Regions from separate parts of the Homo sapiens genome. Here region 2 is linked to region 1. Evidence: promoter capture Hi-C in human tissues and cell types (Jung and others, 2019). All regions are on one chromosome and are shown on one strand. Each heading gives the region's core, a stretch centred on a gene start or on the middle of the fragment in contact. The rest is flanking DNA. Distances are from core to core; before and after follow the strand shown.

Evidence for each region. Contacts are between HindIII fragments. The study calls those that stand out against the background at their distance.
Region 2: a fragment that was not itself captured here is called in contact with the fragment with the promoter of B3GNT4 in region 1 in 1 of the 25 tissues and cell types used here (dorsolateral prefrontal cortex).

Annotation. Positions count from the first base shown.
Region 1 is chr12:122,202,077-122,205,125 of GRCh38, forward strand. It overlaps B3GNT4 (UDP-GlcNAc:betaGal beta-1,3-N-acetylglucosaminyltransferase 4), which reads left to right and starts at 1,633. Exons shown (of 3, transcript NM_030765.4): 1 at 1,633-1,725; 2 at 2,446-2,608. The coding sequence starts at 2,543. LRRC43 (leucine rich repeat containing 43) reads left to right here. Exons shown (of 12, transcript NM_001098519.2): 12 at 1,239-1,395. The coding sequence ends at 1,366. RefSeq lists a silencer at 1,318-1,947. The HindIII fragment of the contact is 16,495 bases long and covers 1-3,049 here.
Region 2 is chr12:122,521,408-122,524,456 of GRCh38, forward strand. RSRC2 (arginine and serine rich coiled-coil 2) reads right to left here. Exons shown (of 10, transcript NM_023012.6): 2 at 736-892; 3 at 1-21. Among named protein-coding and RNA genes, the nearest start is that of RSRC2, 4.0 kb to the right of the region's middle. The HindIII fragment of the contact is 5,664 bases long and covers 1-3,049 here.

The DNA.
Region 1 (3,049 bases), core at 383-2,882:
TCGCGCCATTTCACGCCAGCCTGAAGAAGTAAACGTTGGAGGGCATATGCTGCTGGACTTCAAAACCCATGCCTATATGAACATGTGATTTGTGATACTTATCTGTGGGTTAAGATGGCCTTAAAAAGGTTTTTTTTTTTTTAATCTCTTTAATGTTTGGCTTAATTGAAGACAGCTGGATTCTTACAGCTACTTCTGCAGTCAACTGCTTGCAATATGTTGCTGTAATTGACGTGCACAAAGAAAATCCAACCTCAGGCCCATAATTGGAAAAGAGGGAGTATTTTAATAGACCTTAAAATAATATAATTTCTTTAATATTACACCAAATTTGACAAGTGGTAATTTCTTAAAGGTTGTTACAATGTGAAAACAATCTATATTGAATTTTTCATAATCAGATTAAAATTCATTAATCTAGTTTGCATTTTGAACGGATATTTTACCATGCAGTTTGTAACATGCATGAGTTACTTGTAAACTACAGGTTAACAGACTTATGCAGATATTCCAACAGTTGACACCTGTCACTATACATTTTCCAAAGATCACGTTCTTTACTATCACCACCCACATCATTAGAAAGGTCTTTGCGTATTGGAAAATTGGTAAATTCATGGTGGCAGATACAATGTTGTCTCATTTTTAGGGCAAATGTTATACATTTATTGAAATGCTTTCAGTTGTTTCCCCTGAAGTGCTATAATTACTTCATTTTTAAGAAAATATCTGCAGCTGGGCTCGGTAGTGTACGCCTGTGATCCTAGCACGTTGGGAGGCCTAGGCAGGCGGATCACTTGAGGTCAGGAGTTCGAGACCAGGCTGGCCAACATGGTGAAACCCCGTCTCTACTAAAACTACAAAAAATAGCCGGTCGTGGTGACAGGCGCCTGTAATCCCAGCTACTTGGAGGCTGACGCAGGAGAATCGCTTGAACCTGGGAGGCGGAGGTTGCAGTGAGCCGGGATCATGCCACCGCACTCCAGCCTGGGCGACGGAGCACGACACTGTCTCAAAGCAAAAAGCAGCCAGTCTTGCAACTCAAACAGCTGCGATTTATTAAATGATCTAATTAAATACAATTTAATTTTATTTCTTATTACTGTTAACACCCGAGGACCAAAACTGTGCTCCCGCTGGGACAGGGTCCAGGGCTTGCATATGGGATGGGTCAGGGCGGCCGAGAACGCCAGCCCATCCGTCTCCCGGGGCTCATGCTCGCACTTAAATTTTCTCAGAAAAGCCGAAAGCCGTGATTCCGATCTACGAAGGCGATTACCACCCTGAGCCCCTGACCGTAGAGGTGCAGATCCAGCTGAACCAGTGCCGCTCGGCGGAGGAGGCTCTGCGCATGTTCGCCGTGTAGGGCGTGGGCAGTAAAGGCTGTTCCCAGCACTCCCGCCTCCGCTTCTGTCCCGCCGCACGCGTCGGGGGGCGGGTGTGGCGCCGGCGTCCTGGGGAGGAGGAGCAGCCTCTGCCCGACCCGGCTCGTGCGGACCCCAGGACCGGGCGCGGGACGCGTGCGTCCAGCCTCCGGCGCTGCGGAGACCCGCGGCTGGGTCCGGGGAGGCCCCAAACCCGCCCCCGCCAGAACCCCGCCCCAAATTCCCACCTCCTCCAGAAGCCCCGCCCACTCCCGAGCCCCGAGAGCTCCGCGCACCTGGGCGCCATCCGCCCTGGCTCCGCTGCACGAGCTCCACGCCCGTACCCCGGCGTCACGCTCAGGTAGGTTGGGGGCCGGGACGCCGCTGCTGTGAGGGAGGCTGGGTCACCGTGCAGGGAGGGGCGTCGCCAGGGCGGCCGTGCCTTTGCACCCCGCGGCCCGCTCCCCGGTCCCCCAGGGTCCCCGCGAGGACGCCGGCCCCGCCCGGGTGCGGCGCGAGTCTGGCCTCGGCGGGCACGGCTCGGGGCCCACGGGCCGCTCGGCTTCGGTTCTCCAGGCTGGGGACAGAGGCTGGAGCCGGGCGCGGTAGACCCCGCCAGCCTGGGCCGCCCGCGCCCGACGCGCAGCGCTGCTGCCAACCCCGGCCCGGGGGTCCCCGCAGAGTGGGTCTCTGCTGCCGTCAGCCCTTCGGAGACTGTCGCGTTGAAAGAATGAACCAGAGTTCGCCCCCTGCCCGCGCCAGGGCGTTTTGGGTCACCGAGTCCTGTGGGGATCCGAGGCGGCTGCCGCCCAAGGCCGAGCGCAGCCTCAGGACCCGCGCCCCACCAGACGGGGTCGTGCGCTCCGCGGCGGGTGGAGAGCCGGGCTCTGGGGTCTCCGCGGCTCGGAGGGCGGCGGGGCGAGGCCGTGCGGCCAGCGCCTGGGGACGCCCGCGGCGGGACAGGGGCCACCCGGGCCGCGGCGCAGCCTGGGCTGAAACCTCCTGGGACGGAACCAAGCCACCTGCTGTGCGCCCTTCTCGGTGAATGGCACCGCCGCCCGCCCGGGCCTCTCGTCCACAGCCCGCGGTGCTCGCACACCTGAGACTCATCTCGCTTCGACCCCGCCGCCGCCGCCGCCCGGCATCCTGAGCACGGAGACAGTCTCCAGCTGCCGTTCATGCTTCCTCCCCAGCCTTCCGCAGCCCACCAGGGAAGGGGCGGTAGGAGTGGCCTTTTACCAAAGGTCAGATTCTTTCACCGCCTCTGCCAGACCCCCTTGTCCCCCACCCCCGCATAGATCTCCAGGGGGCTCAGAAAACTCTGGCCGGTGGCTCACGCCTGTAGTCCCAACGCTTTGGGAGGCCAAGGCGGGAGGATCGCTTGAGGCCAGGAGTTCCAGACCAGCCCAGGCAACAAAAGATACCACATCTCTACAAAAAATAAATTAGCCGGGCCCTGCACGCCTGTAGTCCCAGCTACTGGGGAGGCCGAGGCCGGAGGATCGCTTGAACCCAGGAGTTCCAGGCTGCAGTGAGCTATAATTGTGCCACTGCACTAGAGTCTGGGTGACAGAGACACTGTCTCAAAAAAAACCAACAAAACCCTTAGCTCTTTCACTAGCCGGGCTGGCCTCTTCCTACTGTAAACCTGCTGGGCCCCCGTCTCCCTTCTTTCTCCCCTCTCT
Region 2 (3,049 bases), core at 378-2,877, 320 kb after region 1:
TGTGTTTTCTTCCTTCATTATCTGTGAATACACAAAAAAAATAATCACCATAAACAAAGTTGGAGAAACATTTCATCTTAAAAAACTCTTAATGCTGGAGAAAAATGACTCCCATTAGTCTTCTTCCAATGACTAATTTTTTCATGGCACGGGTGGGATTATTCTACATTAATACAACACACATGTGAAACAAATCAAGCAATCTGAGCAAACCAGGACATAAAGCAGCCTAGATACATCTTTTAAACGGTCATAGACTTTCAGTATTTTACATATATTCTGACCAGCCCATCTAGTTTCCTAGTCTACAGCAAATTCATAAGGGGGTTTAATAGAGAGAGGTAAGCCATTAAGAAAAATAAAAACTAAAGAAAATAAACAGGTTGAATTATATTTGATATGTTCCAACATGGTGAAACCCAGTCTCTACTAAAAATACAAAAATAAGCTAGGCGTGGTGGCGCACGCCTATAATCCCAGCTACTCAGGAGGCTGAGGCAGAAGAACTGCCTGAACCCAGCAGATGGAGGTTGCATTGGGCTGAGAGTGTGTCAATTTTTGTATTTTTGGTCCTGGCTCAGGTGATCTGCCTGCCTTGGCCTCCCAAAGTGCTGGCATTACAGGCTTGAGCCACCATGCCCAGCCAACAAACTAAATGTATGTGTCTTCTTATACAACAGGTCTACATATCTTATACAAATGCTGAGAGTTGTAACCACCTTTAAGAATTCATACCTGACTTTCGTTTTCTTTCTCTTGACCTTGATCGTGATCTTGAATAATGATGTTTTGAAGCTCTAGGAGAAACAGATACTTCTGACTGCTCTTTTTTCTTATCTCTATCTGGTGATGTCTTTTCTGGGGCTAGTCCATCTCGCTCTGTATCACTAGCCTAAAAGTTTAAAAACAAATGATTAAAGTTCTTAATTACATTTTAAATGTTTTCAATTTCTTAAAAGAGGGACAAAGGGAGGGAAGATAGCCCCCCACAATCAATAAATCAGAATGCCTGCTTTCCAAGTAACTAAATGTGCTTTGTACACTAATAAGGCTGAATGGCTTGAAATGACGAACCTGATACTAAAGCAAGACCTACATATTTAGACTGATGTATCTTTAATTTTCTAACGATGATTTGTATAACTTTTAAAACATGGGGTGGGGTGGGGGAGGAATAAGGGCTCCAAGTAGTTCTAATAAGCATTCAAGCAGAGAAAATAGTCCTTTTTAGATGTGTGAATGCATTTAGCTGACTTTACCAATACTTTTAAATTAGCATACATGTCAAACATCAAAAATGAGTTGTTAAAGCTTAAAGATACTCAAGACGATAAAATCTTAAAACAATGCCCTAAGAATATTATAAAATAATAAACAGAAAATTAACTTACCTAAGTGAGAACCTCATCTTAATGTCATTAACCCTCTTTAATGAAAACAGCCCCTTGGCACAGTGCTGCTGCAAAATATGGTCTGCCTCTCCTCACATGTGCTCTGGGCTATGAAAACATTAAGTTGTTTCTGCTTTAAAGCATTTTATAAGTAATTATTACAATATAAATTTTACAAGTTTCAACTAATGCAGAAGGTAGACAATGCTCGGCTATCTGACCAGAGAAGATAACATGAAAATAAAATAATTGATACACCTGGGGAATTGATTACTTAGGAAGGGTTGGCAAGCTATGGTCCTCATTCTGTTTCTGTATGGCCTTGAGCTAGGAATGGTTTTTTACGTTTTTTAAAACTATTTTAGGCATATTTAATAAATAACTTCAGTAAATAGCACTGTAAAGACTGAACTGTTAAAACTAAAGGCACTTAAAACGCCAGTGTTGTGGCTCATGCCTGTAATCCTAGCACTTTGGGAGGTTGAGGCAGGCGGATAACCTGAGGTCAGGAGTTTGAGACCAGCCTAGCCAACATGGTAAAACCCTGCTTCTACTAAAAACACAAAAATTAGCCAAGAGTGGTGGGGCGTGCCTGTAATCCCAGCAACTCAGGAGGTTGAGACAGGAGAATGGCTTGAACCCATGAGGCAGACGTTGAAGTGAGCTAAGATTGCGCCACTGCCCCTCCAGCCTGGGAAAGAATGTGACAGAGACTGCACATGGCCCACAAAGCCAAAAATATTTACCGTCTGGCCCTTTACAGAAACAGTTTATGGACTTTTCACGTATAACATCAAACGGAATCTGGATTGAATAAATAGGGAATCGATAGTCTTCAGCAGGAGGAATCACATTAGAGAACTTCCTCCTTTAGGAAAGTTAGTCCAGAAAATGAATACCAAATATCAAGTACAATAAATGGGGGTATTGTATTTTAACAAATTTTAAACAAGTATCAAGTACAATAAATGGGTGTATTGTACTTTAATAAATGAAGTTGTGAGAGGTCGAGTTACTTCAACAAGTATTTACTAAGGGTCAAAAATGTGCCAAAACCAATGCTAGACTTAGGGAATAAAATGATAAATTAAAAACAGAAAGGTTTTGCAGTTCAATTATGAGATGAAAGACATAAATTACGTGTTATTCCTCTAACAATGGCACAAAAAGAACAGTAAGAAATTAACTACCAGGGAGGCTCTCATGCCAGCATATTGTATATGTACTTATTTCTCCAGTCTGGGTGACTTCTGGAACCATAAAATTTTTATGCTGAAAGGTTTTCACCCCTTAGAATAGAGTTCAACTTTCTCGTTTCACAGATGAGATCCAGCAACATTAGCTGACTTGCTTAAAATGATACTGCATCTCCGTATCTTTACTGTTTACTACTAATAAATAATGCTGTATCATTAAGGATGATTCTGATTTTTCACAATGAATTCTGGACACTTTTTTTTTTCATCGTTATCCTTGAGGACTATTTCAGACTCATTTATTACTTGCTGAGTGTTTGTACAGCTTACACTTGGTAAACAGAAGTGATCTCGAAAATTTTAAGCACCGCTATTACTTCTCTCAGTTGCACGACACTTTTGCCAGAGACAGAATTCCTTAACTAGTGGCAAATCCCATTTACTTTTGCAGAGAACAAGACT